Regions from separate parts of the Homo sapiens genome. Here all the other regions are linked to region 3. The links are contacts of gene promoters, found by promoter capture Hi-C in blood cells and fetal thymus (Javierre and others, 2016). All regions are on one chromosome and are shown on one strand. Each heading gives the region's core, a stretch centred on a gene start or on the middle of the fragment in contact. The rest is flanking DNA. Distances are from core to core; before and after follow the strand shown.

Evidence for each region. The method cuts DNA at HindIII sites, captures the fragments that hold promoters and counts their contacts. A CHiCAGO score of 5 or more calls a contact.
Region 1: a contact is called between a fragment that was not itself captured here and the fragment with the promoter of VPS37C in region 3, in 11 of 17 cell types (non-activated CD4 T cells, naive CD8 T cells, activated CD4 T cells and 8 more). The highest score is 16.5, in non-activated CD4 T cells.
Region 2: a fragment that was not itself captured here is called in contact with the fragment with the promoter of VPS37C in region 3 in 7 of 17 cell types (naive CD8 T cells, endothelial precursors, non-activated CD4 T cells and 4 more); the score reaches 6.9 in naive CD8 T cells.

What each region holds. Positions count from the first base shown.
Region 1 is chr11:60,917,392-60,921,786 of GRCh38, reverse strand. It overlaps TMEM109 (transmembrane protein 109), which reads right to left. Exons shown (of 4, transcript NM_024092.3): 2 at 1,857-2,101; 3 at 799-901; 4 at 1-13. The coding sequence starts at 2,093. It overlaps LOC124902676 (a long non-coding RNA gene), which reads left to right. Exons shown (of 2, transcript XR_007062688.1): 2 at 2,634-4,171. Among named protein-coding and RNA genes, the nearest start is that of TMEM132A, 4.9 kb to the left of the region's middle. RefSeq lists an enhancer at 1,751-2,950. The HindIII fragment of the contact is 2,902 bases long and covers 1-2,765 here.
Region 2 is chr11:60,982,020-60,986,420 of GRCh38, reverse strand. All of the region lies in intron 1 of CD6 (CD6 molecule), which reads right to left. It also overlaps the pseudogene RNU6-933P. Among named protein-coding and RNA genes, the nearest start is that of CD6, 13 kb to the right of the region's middle. The HindIII fragment of the contact is 569 bases long and covers 1,263-1,831 here.
Region 3 is chr11:61,160,013-61,164,004 of GRCh38, reverse strand. VPS37C (VPS37C subunit of ESCRT-I) reads left to right here and starts at 2,579. Exons shown (of 5, transcript NM_017966.5): 1 at 2,579-2,614. RefSeq lists enhancers at 1,990-2,129, 2,140-2,189, 1,930-2,522, 2,523-3,116 and a silencer at 2,180-2,939. The HindIII fragment of the contact is 11,808 bases long and covers 1-3,992 here.

The DNA.
Region 1 (4,395 bases), core at 65-2,564, 240 kb after region 3:
GCGAGGTAATCACCTGGAAGCCAAGAGAGTCACAGAGTCAGCCAACCTGGAGAAGTGGTGAGGGGAGAGCGGGGCAAGAGCTAAAAGGGTGGGAGGTGCTAGGCACATTGCAAAGGAATAAGCCGTTCTCGCAGACTCAGAGTGATATGGGTTGGAATCTCAGCTCTGTTTCTTGCTGGCTGTGAGGCCTGGAGTAGATTACTTGCTTCTGTTGAGCTGCAGTTTCATTTACTAAACGGGAACAATTCTACTGCCTCCCTGTACTGTGGCTGGCAATTAAATGAGATACTACAGCTCAGCACGATGCCTGATAGGAAGTGAACAACTGGCACGTGGTGGCGGAAGTTCTTTTTTAGGGGGTCTGGGTGGGACAGGGTTTTGCTCCATCGCCGAGGCTGGAGTGCAGTGACGTGATCCCGGCTCACTGCAACCTCTACCTCCTGGGCTCAAGCGATCCTCCCACCTCAGCTCCCAAGTAGCTGGGACAACAGACACACGCCACCATGCTTGGCTAATTTTTTATAGAGACGAGGTCTCATTATATTGCCCAGGCTGGTCTCAAACTTCTGGCCTCAAGTGACCCTCCTGCCTTGACCTCCCAAAGTGCTGGGATTACAGGCGGGAGCCACCACACCTGGCCATGGTAGTTCTTGGCTTGCTCTTTGGCCATGTCTCTGCAGAATCCTGGGAAGGGTTAAGCAGCTTGGGGAAAAGGCTAGACCCTGACAAAGATGAACTCCCACAAGTAGGAAAGTACAGGCAAAGCTCTGGCTGACTACCCAGCACTCGAACACTCACCAGCTAGTCCCAAGGCATTCAGCAGCTGTGCGGCGATCCCAGACAGAGCAAAGAAGGCCACAGAAATGGCTGATGAGATGGCCCACAACACTTGGGACGAAGACTGTGGAAAGAGCACGGAGCGAGATGAGTTCATAATGAACAACGGTCCTCGCCTTCACGCCTGATCACCACTGTCCAGGCAAGAACTGCAGGAATGTCTCAGACCTGTTTCTCACCCAGTGGTGACAGGCCTGGGTCAGAGGGTAGGGGCCTTGGGCCTGGCTGAGGGGTCCCTTCCACATCCACCTTCTAGTCTACAGGGATGGCCAACAGGCTGTCTCTCCTTCCTGAACTGGAAACTAGGGCATCTGGGACATAATTTAACTGCTTTGCTGGGATACTTTGGAGGGAGTAGTAGGTGTACTTGTGTGTGAATGACGGAGACAATCAAATACTTTTAGTAGTCACCCTATAAAACTGGAGGCCTGCTAGCTGTCCAGGGAGTCATGAAGGTGCGTGGAGAACATCTGTAAAGGGATAGGATGTTCCAGTGAAAAAGGAGTCTATCAGCTATACTATATTATGGATTTAATAAATGATTGTCTCAGCCCTTCAGTCCAGCCTATCAAAAGTATGTGATACCATGCTTGGGATGCCACCAGGTAAAAAAAGATAACCCTGCCTTAGGCTCCCAATAAGCTCAACCCACTTCTGCAGGTGAAGGAATGGATTCAGGACTTGATATTTTGCCATTTCGAGATTCTAGGTCAGATTTAGACCAAAGTGAGACTCTACAGTCACCCAGTAACATGGGCTTATAAAGATGGCTCATTTCCCAGCCTTTCTGGCAAGGAAAGGGCAGGAGCCAGGAAAGGATAGGGGTGGAGCTAAAAGGCCCTAGGACAGCAATCAAATAACGAGGAATTCAAAGACAAGTGCTGTGTGGCTTCTTTTTGTGGAATTTGGGGCTCTCTGCACCAGAGAGGATGTGGAACTAAGATGAGGTGGCCATTACCAACCTTTCTTCTTTTATTTTTCCTTAATGTGTGTAGTCACACAGGGACTACCTTCCTTACCTCTGACACCAGGTGCATGGTCTCTGGCCCAATCCAGGCATCCAGTGTCCCTCGCACAGATCGACCTATCTGGGTCAAGACATCAACTGGGGCTTCTCTCTTCTGTTGGCCTGGTGGTGCAAAGTCTCGACGGGACTGGGCCAATGCTGAGTGGAGGAGGATAAGGGCCACTAGGACCATCAGAATGGCTTTGAACACATGCTTTCCCCATGGTGAACTGATGCTGGAGGCTGCCATGACTGGGTCTGCCAGGAGAGAAGCACAGTGAGCTGAGTGCCATGGTAGACACACTCACCCTCTCAGCTCTGATTATCCCAACATCCTTCTCCACCCCTACCCCAAGCAAGCACCAAACTAACCCTGGAAAGAAAGTGCTGTTAGCTGGGAGAGGAAGGACTGGGACTTCCAACTGAAGCTGGGCACAACCATCTGACTCACAGGTTCCTCTTTCACATTCTTTACCACTTGCATATTAATTAACCAGCAAGTATTATTCAACACTTTAGAGTTGGCGAGAAGATCTCTCTAAGGTTTGTGCCAGTTCTAAAAATCTGAAGGCCTGTCCCTGTATCTTAGGTGCTATAGGCATAAAAGTATTATAAGACTCTATAAAGGCTCTGTCCCAAGGAGCTTATAATCTACTTAAGATACAGCTGGTATAAAAAACAACTTAAAAATAGCACACAAGTAGGATTACTGCCATATAATGGTATAAAGAAAAGTGCTCAGTTATGTGCTCAAACAAGAATAACTGCACATATGTCATCTTCTCTGCAGGACCATCATGTGAGGTGGCTTTTATCCTCCTCGCCCCTACTGGTACAGACGAGAAGAAACTGTGACTCAGAAGTTAAGCATTTTCCCATGGTCACTGGGCTACACAGAAAGGCCAGGATTTGAACCCAAGCTTCTGCTTCCACCCATCTTCATTAGGAGTCAAGTTATACTGTGGGTCTCAACCATGGCTGCTCACTGGAATCACCTGGAAGCTTCCCAAGTACTGATGTCTGTGTCCCCAGCCCAGAGGTTCTGATATCATTGTCTGGGTGTGGCCTAGCCTTGGATCTGCAAAAGCTCCCTAGGCAGTTCCACTGCATGAAGTTGAGAACCACTGATACAGAGTGACCTCACCTCCCCACCCCCAATGGAGGTGCTATGGTTTGAAGAGCAAAACTCATGTTGAAATTTAACTGTTCTTGCACCTCCTGCAGAGCCTGGGAGCTCCCAGTCCAGCCAAGGATGTTGGATCTCATGGTCCTAAGTACTTCTTTGACACCCCATTCCCCTCAGTAAAATAGTTTGACCCCTTCTCCACCAAAAAAAAAAAAAAAAGAAAGAAATTTAATTGCCATGATGATGGTATTAAAAGGTGGGACCTTTAAGAGGTGATTAGGTTATGAGGGTTCAGCCCTCATGAATGGATTAATGCCGTTATCTTGGGAGTGGATTAGTTATCCCAGGAATGCAGCTCCTGATAAAAAGGATGACTTTGGCCTGATTTCCTGTCTCTGTCTCATGTGCTGGGTTCTGCCTTCTGCCATAGGATGACCCTTGCCAGATGCCAGCGCCATGCCCTTAGACTTCCCAGCCTCTGGAACTGTGACCCTAATGAATTTCTGTTCATTATAAACTACGCAGGCAGTGGCATTCTGTTATAGGAAGCAGAAAATGGACGAGGACAGTGAGCAAGGGTATAATGAACAACCTTTAAAGAAATACTATTAATAAAAAGCTAACATTCAGCTAGGTCTTGCCATGCACCACCGCGCTCATTTAACTGTCACAACAGCCCATCGGGTAGGTGTTGCTATTATCCCCCATTTTACTGAAGTAATTGAGGCAGGTTAAGTATTAACTGGGGAAATCAGCATTTGAATGTAGGTACTTCTGACATTGGACCCCTCATACACAACAACTCTGCTGTATTGTCTCCAACTAAGTCTCAGAAGTGATTTAGAAAGTCATACAGGCCAGGCACAGTGGCTCATTCCTGTAATCCCAACACTTTGGGAGGCTGAGGTGGGAGGATTGCTTGAGCCCAGGAGTTTGGGAGCAGCCTGGGCAACATAGGAGACCCTGTCTCTACAAAATAAATATAAATAAATAAATTAGTCAGGTGTGGTGGTGCGTGCCTGTACTCCCAGCTATTTGGGAGGCTGAGGGGGGAGGATCACTTGAGCCCAGGAGGTCACGGCTGCAGTGAGCTATGATCATGCCACTGTATCCCATCCTGGGCAAGAGAGCAAGACGCTTAAAAAAAAAAGTCACACAACAGATTATTCATGAGTTAAAATAAACTTGGCATCTACCAATCATCTCAGTGAATTACTGGTGAAAATTACCTAACAACTTTGTGCTTTGTGCTCTGGTCTTGTAACACAATGCCACAGACAAGTTAAGACCCAACAAGTGCCAACTCATTGAAGCAGGTAAGGATCAGCCAAGAAAAAGTACACAAGTTCAACTTCTACTTGCCACTGTGCTTGAGAAATGTCAGACAGCGCCAGCAAATTCCCTGTTCCCCTCCAGGTTCAGAAAT
Region 2 (4,401 bases), core at 298-2,797, 180 kb after region 3:
CATGGCGGAAGTGGTGGAGCCTGGAGTCAAGGCTGGTCTCAGAGCCACCTGACAAGTGTGGATCAACACCAGCCCGGCACCCATCAGCCACCCACCTTCCTGCTGGTGAGACTGAAGGCCCATGACGCTCCACAGACTCAAAAACTTCCTCCTTCAAGAACAAACAGCCGGGTTGTGTGAAGGTGCTGGCTGAGACTTCTTTTCTCTCTTTGCATTCCTTCTAATGTGGTTGTTATAACGTTTTTACAATAAGGATGACTAATGTTTACATCACATCTGAATTTTCAGCTAGCATTGGGTGGGAGTGATACCGAGGGTGAGTAGAATGGAGAGCAGCTATTACCAGGACCTTGGGTAAGTCCTTGCCCCGTTCCAAGGCCTCAGTTTCTCCATGGTTAAATGGGTGGGCTGGGCCTGTCAAATCCTTCCACCAGTTAGCAAAATGCTTCTCAAATCAGGTCTGAGTCAGAAAGACAGTTTAACATATAAGATTAAATGGAACTGAATCATGCAGTAAACAAATTATTCCTTTTCCAATTTTTCTGTCCGACTGCATTAAGGAGAAAGTCTCATTGTGCTGCTACTTAGTCTTTAACACCTAACACTTTTTGTTAAATTTTATTTTTGCAGAGATGGGGACATGCAATGTTGCCCAGGATGCTCTTGAACTCCTGGGCTCAAGCAACCTGCCTGTCTTGGCCTCCCAAAGTGCTGGCATGACAGGCATCAGCCACTGTGCCTGGCCACCTAACACTTCTTAATGAATGGAGAGACAGCTCATGCTTGGACGGCAGGCTATTTAATGACACTTTTGGTTTCAGTGTTTTCTTTGTTTATATATATATATTCTATTTACTTAAGTAGTATTGGTTTGAGATACATGATAGTGACAGATTTCTAAGTTCAAATAAACTTAAGTTTATAAAAGGAGAGGGTGGCCGGGTGCGGTGGCTTATACCTGTAATCCCAGCACTCTGGGAGGCTGAGACGGGCAGATCACCTGAGGCCAGGAGTTTGAGACCAGCCTGGCTAACATGGCGAAACCCCGTCTCTACTAAAAATACAAAAATTAGCCAGGCAATGGTGGTGCATGCCTGTAATCCCAGCTACTTGGGAGGCTGAGGCAGGAGAATCACTTGAACCCGGGAGGCAGAGGTTGCAGTGAGCCAAGATGGCACCATTGCACTCCAGCCTGAGCGACAAGAGCGAAACTCAGTCTCAAAAAAAAAAAAAAAAAAAAAAAAAAGGAGTGGGTGCAAGCTTCGGCGGTACATATACGAAAACTGGAACAATACAGAGAAGATTAGAATGACCCCTGTACAGGTATGACACGTGAATTCGTGAAGCGTTCTATATCTTTGTTTAAAAAAAGAAAAAAAGGAGTTGATGTACAAAATTCTTAAGTAATTGTATATGCATGAAGGGCAAATGAAATCACATCCTTCTACACCTAAAACTCTCTGATGAGCTCCCATTTCCCTTGGATTAATTCCAAACCCTATTATCTATGCCCTCAAGCCCTGCCAGCCTCTCCAACTCCATCTCCTTCACTCCTCCATCAGTCTGAAATCAATCTCATTCCTGCCTCAGGGCCTCCGCCCCTGCTCCTCCCCCTGACGGGAATGTCCTCTCCCTGATCTCAGCATTCCCAGCTCATCTCATCACTCAGGTCTATATCCCCTCCGAGGTTCTGCCTGTGTCTCCAGTGCAACCGCTCTCAGTCCCCTTACTTTGCCTGATTTCCCTTGGTGCACATATCCCTCTCTGAAATGATACTATTTTAAAAATGTGTTTATGTTTTTGGTCTATTTTCCCTATTAGAATAGAAGCTTCTTGAAGACCGGGACTTTGTCCCGTATCCTCAGTGGCTGAAAAAAAGTGCCTAACACATACTAGTAGCTCAACAAATGAATGGCAAAACTGTAAAGATGGAGGGAGAACTAGCCCTAAGGTGGAGAGGTGCTGACCCGGACTCCAATATCCGAGGCGGGGCAAGACAGCAGCCACCAGAGGCACAGTGGAAAGGGAGCTCAAACCTTGGCCTCATTAGTACCAGCCTGCCATGCACTGAGCCACCTGCCTCCCTCCCACGGAGGCAGCAAAGAGAGCCGAGTCAGCAACTATTAATGAAGAAGGAATGGTGGAATTATAATATCACCACCAGGTAACCATCCTTATAATAACTGATTCCGGCAAGAATCAACAATAATGTTACAACTAGTGGGCAAAGGTTTGAGGAAGAGTAAGATATTTACATATTCTCAAAGAATCTACCCACAAGATACATGTTAATTACAAAGGAGGAAATTATCTTTACAGCAGAGAAATCTAGCAGACAACACCTTAGCCAAGCAAGTTAGACCACCGGAGAGGGGACATGGAGAGCCCATGTGCCTCCTGATATGATTCACTGGGAAGGACAAAACGTGCTTCTGTGATATTCCTGCCAAACAGGCATGACTTAAATGGAACCATGAAGAACCATCAGACAACCCAGATGAGGGCCATTTTACAGAATAACTGCTCTATGCTTCAAAAAGATCAATGACATGAAAGAGAAAGAAAATCTGAGAAATCATTCCAGATTCAAGGAGAATAGAGAGACGAGAATTAAACGCAGCATACTGAACAAAATTTCTTTTGTCTTAGAAGATATTATTGGAACCATTGGCAAAATCTGAATAAATTCTGTCGATTATCCAATAGAATTGTATCAGCATTAATTATCTGGTTTTGATAAGTACACTGTGGTTATGTAAGAAAATGTCCGTATGTAAAAAAAAAAAACAACAACAAAAACACACGTTGGGGTATTTAGGAGAAAGGGACATTACAACCTTCTCTCAAACAGTTTAGGGGGAAAGCAATAGAAAAACAGACACATTGAGAGGAAATAATAAAGCAAATGTGGAAAATTGTTAGCAGTTGGAGAGTCTGAGGGAAGAGCATGGGGAAATTCTTTGTATTGTTCTTGCAACTTCTCAGTAAGTCTGAAATTAGCCTGAAATTAAAAGTTAAGTGAAAAAACAGGCCAGGTGCAGTGGCTCGCGTCTGTAATCCCAGCACTTTGGGAAGCTGAGGCAGGAGGATCGCTTGAGGTCAGGAGTTAAAGACCAGCCTGACCAACATGGTGAAACCCCGTCTCTACTAAAAATACAAAAACTAGCGTGGTGGTGCGGGACTGTAGTCCCAGCTACTCGGGAGGCTGAGGCACGAGACTCGCTTGAACCTGGGAGGTGGAGGTTGCAGTGAGCCGAGATCACAACACTGCACTCCAACCTGGGCAACAAGAGTGAGACTCCGTCAAAAAAAAAAAAAAAGTGAAGTAAAAAAACAAAGAGGAGGCAGAGCCTGAGGACTGGAGGAGCCGTTGGAGGGGCTGGGCAGAGTAGCTACATGAAGCCAGCATGTCACTGCCCAGGGTCACCTGTGTTCATGTCAGACCATGTCAGGCCACACTGGGCCATAGCAGTCCCCCGCATTCTCTCTAGGGGTGGGGGTGGGGAGTTAGTTAAGCCTGTGCCTGGTTCACACAGGCCCCGCCATGCCCTGCTGGGCAGCGTGGGAAGAGGCCCTGGAAAGAGTCCCTGCAGACTGGGCTTCTCAGCCCTGCTCCAAGACCCTGGGGCATGTCGTTCCCCACTTCGCACCTCGCTTTCCTCCTCTGACAAACAGGAGATGGCTGGCAGCTCGCTGGGGTTTCTTCCAGCTCAGACATTGTCATACTTCTAGAATCCCATCCCGGCAAAGCAACATATTTCTCCAAGGAGCTGAATCCATTTGGCAACTGTGCATCCTTTAGTTTGGTTGAAGGAGGGAGGGAGGCAAAACGAGAGCACACCAAATGGAGTGGGGAACGGGCCTCCTCCAGGCCTGGGGGGCTTCCTCAGCTCTGTCTCCCCGCGCCCGCCTGCTCCCAGGCACCCCTCCTGAAAGAGGTGAACACCCTAGCAAAAAGGGTACTGAAGTGCAGATAAACATCCTCCCTCCAAACCCCAGTGACCAGAAGTGACTCTGCTCCCAGCTCTGTCAGCCACTGGCGGCGTTACTTAAGCTCTTGGGCTTCAGTCTGTCCTTCTGTAAAATGAACAGAGTCACGCTTGGCTTTGCATCTGACTCCGAGGACACAGTGACTTCATTTCTGCCTTCTCCCTGCCACAGGGCTCAGTACATGACTCCAAGTCAGAAGTGAGGTCCTCAGATGGGACCCCCAAGAAGCCCCTAGCCCCAAGGCCCCTCGTCACTCTTACAGCCTGTGTCCCCACATGACCCTGGTCCCCAGCCCCATGCACAGACCGCCCCCCACCCGGGCATCTGCTGTCCCCAGCCCCATGCACAGAACCCCCCCCCCCGCCACCCTGGCATCTGCTGGCACCTCCCGGAGACCTCAGCCCAGCTCAG
Region 3 (3,992 bases), core at 1,330-3,829:
GGTTCCTTCTATTTTGTTGTGCCACTAGTGTGGCCTCTATTCCTATGGTCGCCTCATGGTTCAAGATGACTACACTTGCTCCAGCCATCATGTCCATGTCCCACCTTCCAACATGGTACTAATCAGTGAAGAGATTGCTGGATATAAACTCAAGCTAATCCATCAATAGTGTTTCCTAATTATTTTCCTTCAGAAATGAAACACATGCAGAGTTAAAAATCACATAGCAGCTGGGCGTGGTGGCTCACGCCTGTAATCTCAGCACTTTGGGAGGCCGAGGTGGGTGGATCACCTGAGGTCAGGAGTTCGAGATCAGCCTGGCAACATGGTGAAACCCTGTCTCTACTAAAAATACAAAGACTAGCCGGGTGTGGTGGTAGGCGCCTGTAATCCCAGCTACTTGGGACGCTCAGGCAGGACAATCACCTGAACCCAGGAGGCGGAGGTTGCAGTGAGCAGAGATCACACCATTGCACTCCAGCCTGGGCAACAAGAGAGAAACTCCGTCTCAAAAAAAAAAAAAAATCACATAGCACAAAAAGGCTTATGACAAAAAATTAAGGTCATCTGCCCTGGCCCTCCCTAACCCTCAGAAACAATTTCAACCTAGCTTTCAAACAGGTGCTGTCAATGGGAGTCACTCTGACATTCTGTACCAAGTGAAATGTTTGCAAAACCAACATGCCCCCGCTCAAAGGAGTCACCAGTGTCTCAGAAGGGTCAGCAGCTGACCTTCTTCATGGACCCCTTCTGTTATAAGAAGGAGTTTTGACAAATTCAGTTTGACAGAGTTTAATTGAGCAAATAATGATTTGTGAATCAGTCAGCCCCCAGAACCAGAATAGGTTCAGAGTGACTCTGAGGCTGCCAGGTGGTTGGATAACATTTAGGGATAGAAAACGGAAAGCAGGTTGGGCGTGGTGGCTCATGCCTGTAATTCCAACACTTTGGGAAGCCGAGGCTGGAGGATTGCTTGAGTCCAGGAGTTCCAGACCAGCCTGGGCAACATAGCGAATCTCCATTTCTATTAAAAAATAATCATTAAAATTTAAAAATAAGAAAAGAAAAAGGAAATAGATGTCCAGAAAACAGAAGCGAGGTACAGAAACAGTTGGACCAGTTATGTAAGCGCAGAACCAGCCCCATCTGGTTCAACTTTGTGTAATAAAGTGGTGAGTTGTTTTTTCAGTTGCCATGATCCCAGGTTGCAAGTTATGTAACCTGAGCGTGCCCAGAAGAACCAAGCATGCAACCACAGGCGCAACCTAAATGCTCAGACCAAAGAACCGGAACAGAATTAAGAAGTAGATACATGGTATAAGCCATGATCTAATCAGATTGAGCCATGGCATCATCCCATGGCAAGATCCAGTCAGATCATTGCTTATTGCAAGATTCAATCAGATCACTGCTCATTACCCTCTGCCTATAACACCTGTCACAGCCCCTGGCTTGGGGAGACAGATTTGAGCATGTCTCCTTCCCAGTTGACTTGCAACAAATCTTTCCCTCTACAAAAACCTGATACTTCGGTGTTTGGCTTTCTGAGGGCAAAGGGATCCAGTTTGGTTCCCTACCAATGACAGATTGACATTTGCCTTATTGGAACAAGGTTTGAACAGGTGGCTGCCTGTGATTGGCTGAAACTCTGTGATTGGTATGAGTAGGATCCAGTTCACTATGTACGGAGAAACCTTTAGGACAAACTTAAGATACGCCAGGAGACAACTTTAGGCTAAACTGGACACTTCTCCCCTTTTGGTCAACCTCTTGATTTTGAGAGGTTGGAAACTTTAGACATTGACATCAGTTACCATTGTAAATAGACTTATTTGGTCTCAAATTCCCCTGGGAAATAGCAGAGCAGTGGGTTTCATAGGTGGGAAAGGGAACAGAATAGAAAAAAAAAAAAAAACACCTGATTAGTTAACATCAGGTCACTTCAGATTCCTTTTTTTAAGGGTTAGAGCAGAGGGGGCTTCCTTATTATGCTGGACTCTCCTGTTTCCAGGGGGGAAGGGAGGAGATGGGGAATACTGGTAATTCTGTAGAATGAATGGGTGGGGGAAAGAGATTAACTAGTAAATGGAAATGAGTGTGTGGTGGCCTTGGGGCTCCTCAGTCTGAGCTCAGCCCATCTGGGGCTCCTCCTAGGTTCTGGGCTTCCATCTGCTTCCCCCTCCTTTTGGGTCCCTCTGAGAAGCCTCCCAAGATCGAGCTGTGTACAGAGCGAGTCCTCGCTGGCCACTCGGAAGGCGGCGGACGTCCGCGCCGGCGCACTAGCCCAGAGCGGCCTGGTCTCCGCCCAGTGGGCGGGGCCTCTTACCGGGGGCGGGGCCGAGGCGTGCGGCGAGCGCTGGAGGGGTCTCGTGGGCGCTCCCGTGGTTGTGGCCCGGGCGGCCGCGAGCGTGTGTGTGTGGCACGATGTCGTGGTAACTCAGAGGCGCGCGAGGCGGGGCGGCCAACGGGGTCGCGGGGCGAGCACGCGCGCCACTGGGGCGCCGGACGTTGCAAGGGGGTCACATCCGGTAGGGGGCGGGCCTGGCGGACCCCGGAAGTGTGGGCGCGGCTGCGGTTTAACCCGCGGTGGCGGCGGCGACGGCGGCCCTGGCAGGTGAGCGGAGACTGGGGAGGGTCCCGGCTCTGCCGCAGGCGGGCGGGGCAGAGGACGACGGTGGGGGCGGCGCCGGCCGTGGCTCCCGGAGCGCCCCCGCCTGCCCGCCTCATCCTGGCAGAGGCCGGTGATTGGGCACGAGGGGCGCGTGACTCTCGCCGGGGGCCGGCGCCCCTGCCCCTCGCGGTGGGAGGGAGGGAGGGAGAGCGCGAGGCGCCGCCCCGGCTCCCCGGCGGGTCGCACCTCCAGTTCCGCCCCACCACTCACCGCCACCCTCCTTTCTGCGTCTCTGCAGGCCCTCGTCCCATATGTGAGCATCTTGCGGTCACAATTCTGATGACATTAGAGCCAATTAGCCCATTGTATAGATGGGGAAGCTGAGGCCTAAGAGTAGGGTCCGACTTGCCAGAGGGCACGCGGGAGACGAGTGGCAGAGGGGAGGTTGGAGGGACTTTGCTCTGTGACTTACTGGCTTGTGCCCTTTCTCCAGGGCATTGAGAGATGGGAGTTTCAGCTTTGGCTTTGTTCAGGACTCAGACTTGGACCTCCCAGCATCACTGAACATTTCTTACCCCGGGACCCTCTGGGCGCAAAGGGCACTGATGTATACATACCCATTATATGCCTGGTTCCTCTTCATTTCCTCCTCAGCCGATGAGGCGATTTCCCACTTTACGGATGGGAGAAGGAGTTAACTGGAGGTGTTTTGTGAGTTACTGGCAGAGTGGACTCTACAACCTGGGGTTTTAGTCGCTGAGCTGAGGCAGTGCTTTCCCAGCTACACCTTGTCTGGGCTCACTTACCCTGGGAATGTCAGTCTTCAGCTCCAGAAACTTCCCACTCATTTCCCTTCGCTCCAGCGGTACCTCAGTTCTCTTGCTGCCTAAGGCCTTTTCCACCCTCTTTATTGGCTCCAGGAGTCCCATTTCCTACTAATGCACCAAGATGCTGCCACCAGACTCTCAGTTCTGTGACTTTTGGCCTTAGAGCTGGAGGTGGTGGTGACCGAGGAACTGGGGAAAGAAAGACTCTTACTTTGTTGTCCAAAGCTGCAACCCTGCAGACACCTGAACTCTGTAGTTCCGGGTGGGATCGGGGACTGTTGCAATGAAAATACTGGACGCTAAACTGAGTCTTTGTTCTTTGCGGTCATAGTGCCCAGAAAAGCCTTTTACCTAGATTATCTTGGAAATGTGGTTCCGTGCCTTTGTAATTTCCATTAAGTAGAACATTTTCATTGTAGACTTTCTGAGCAGTTTCTGGCCGCTGTTTTGCAGGTAGCAATAGCTGTGATTTGTTGCTTGGCTTCATATGCTGGGCACTGTTCTAGGGCTTTCTGAACATACCGAATTTTGCGAACATGTCCAAATAGGTGATG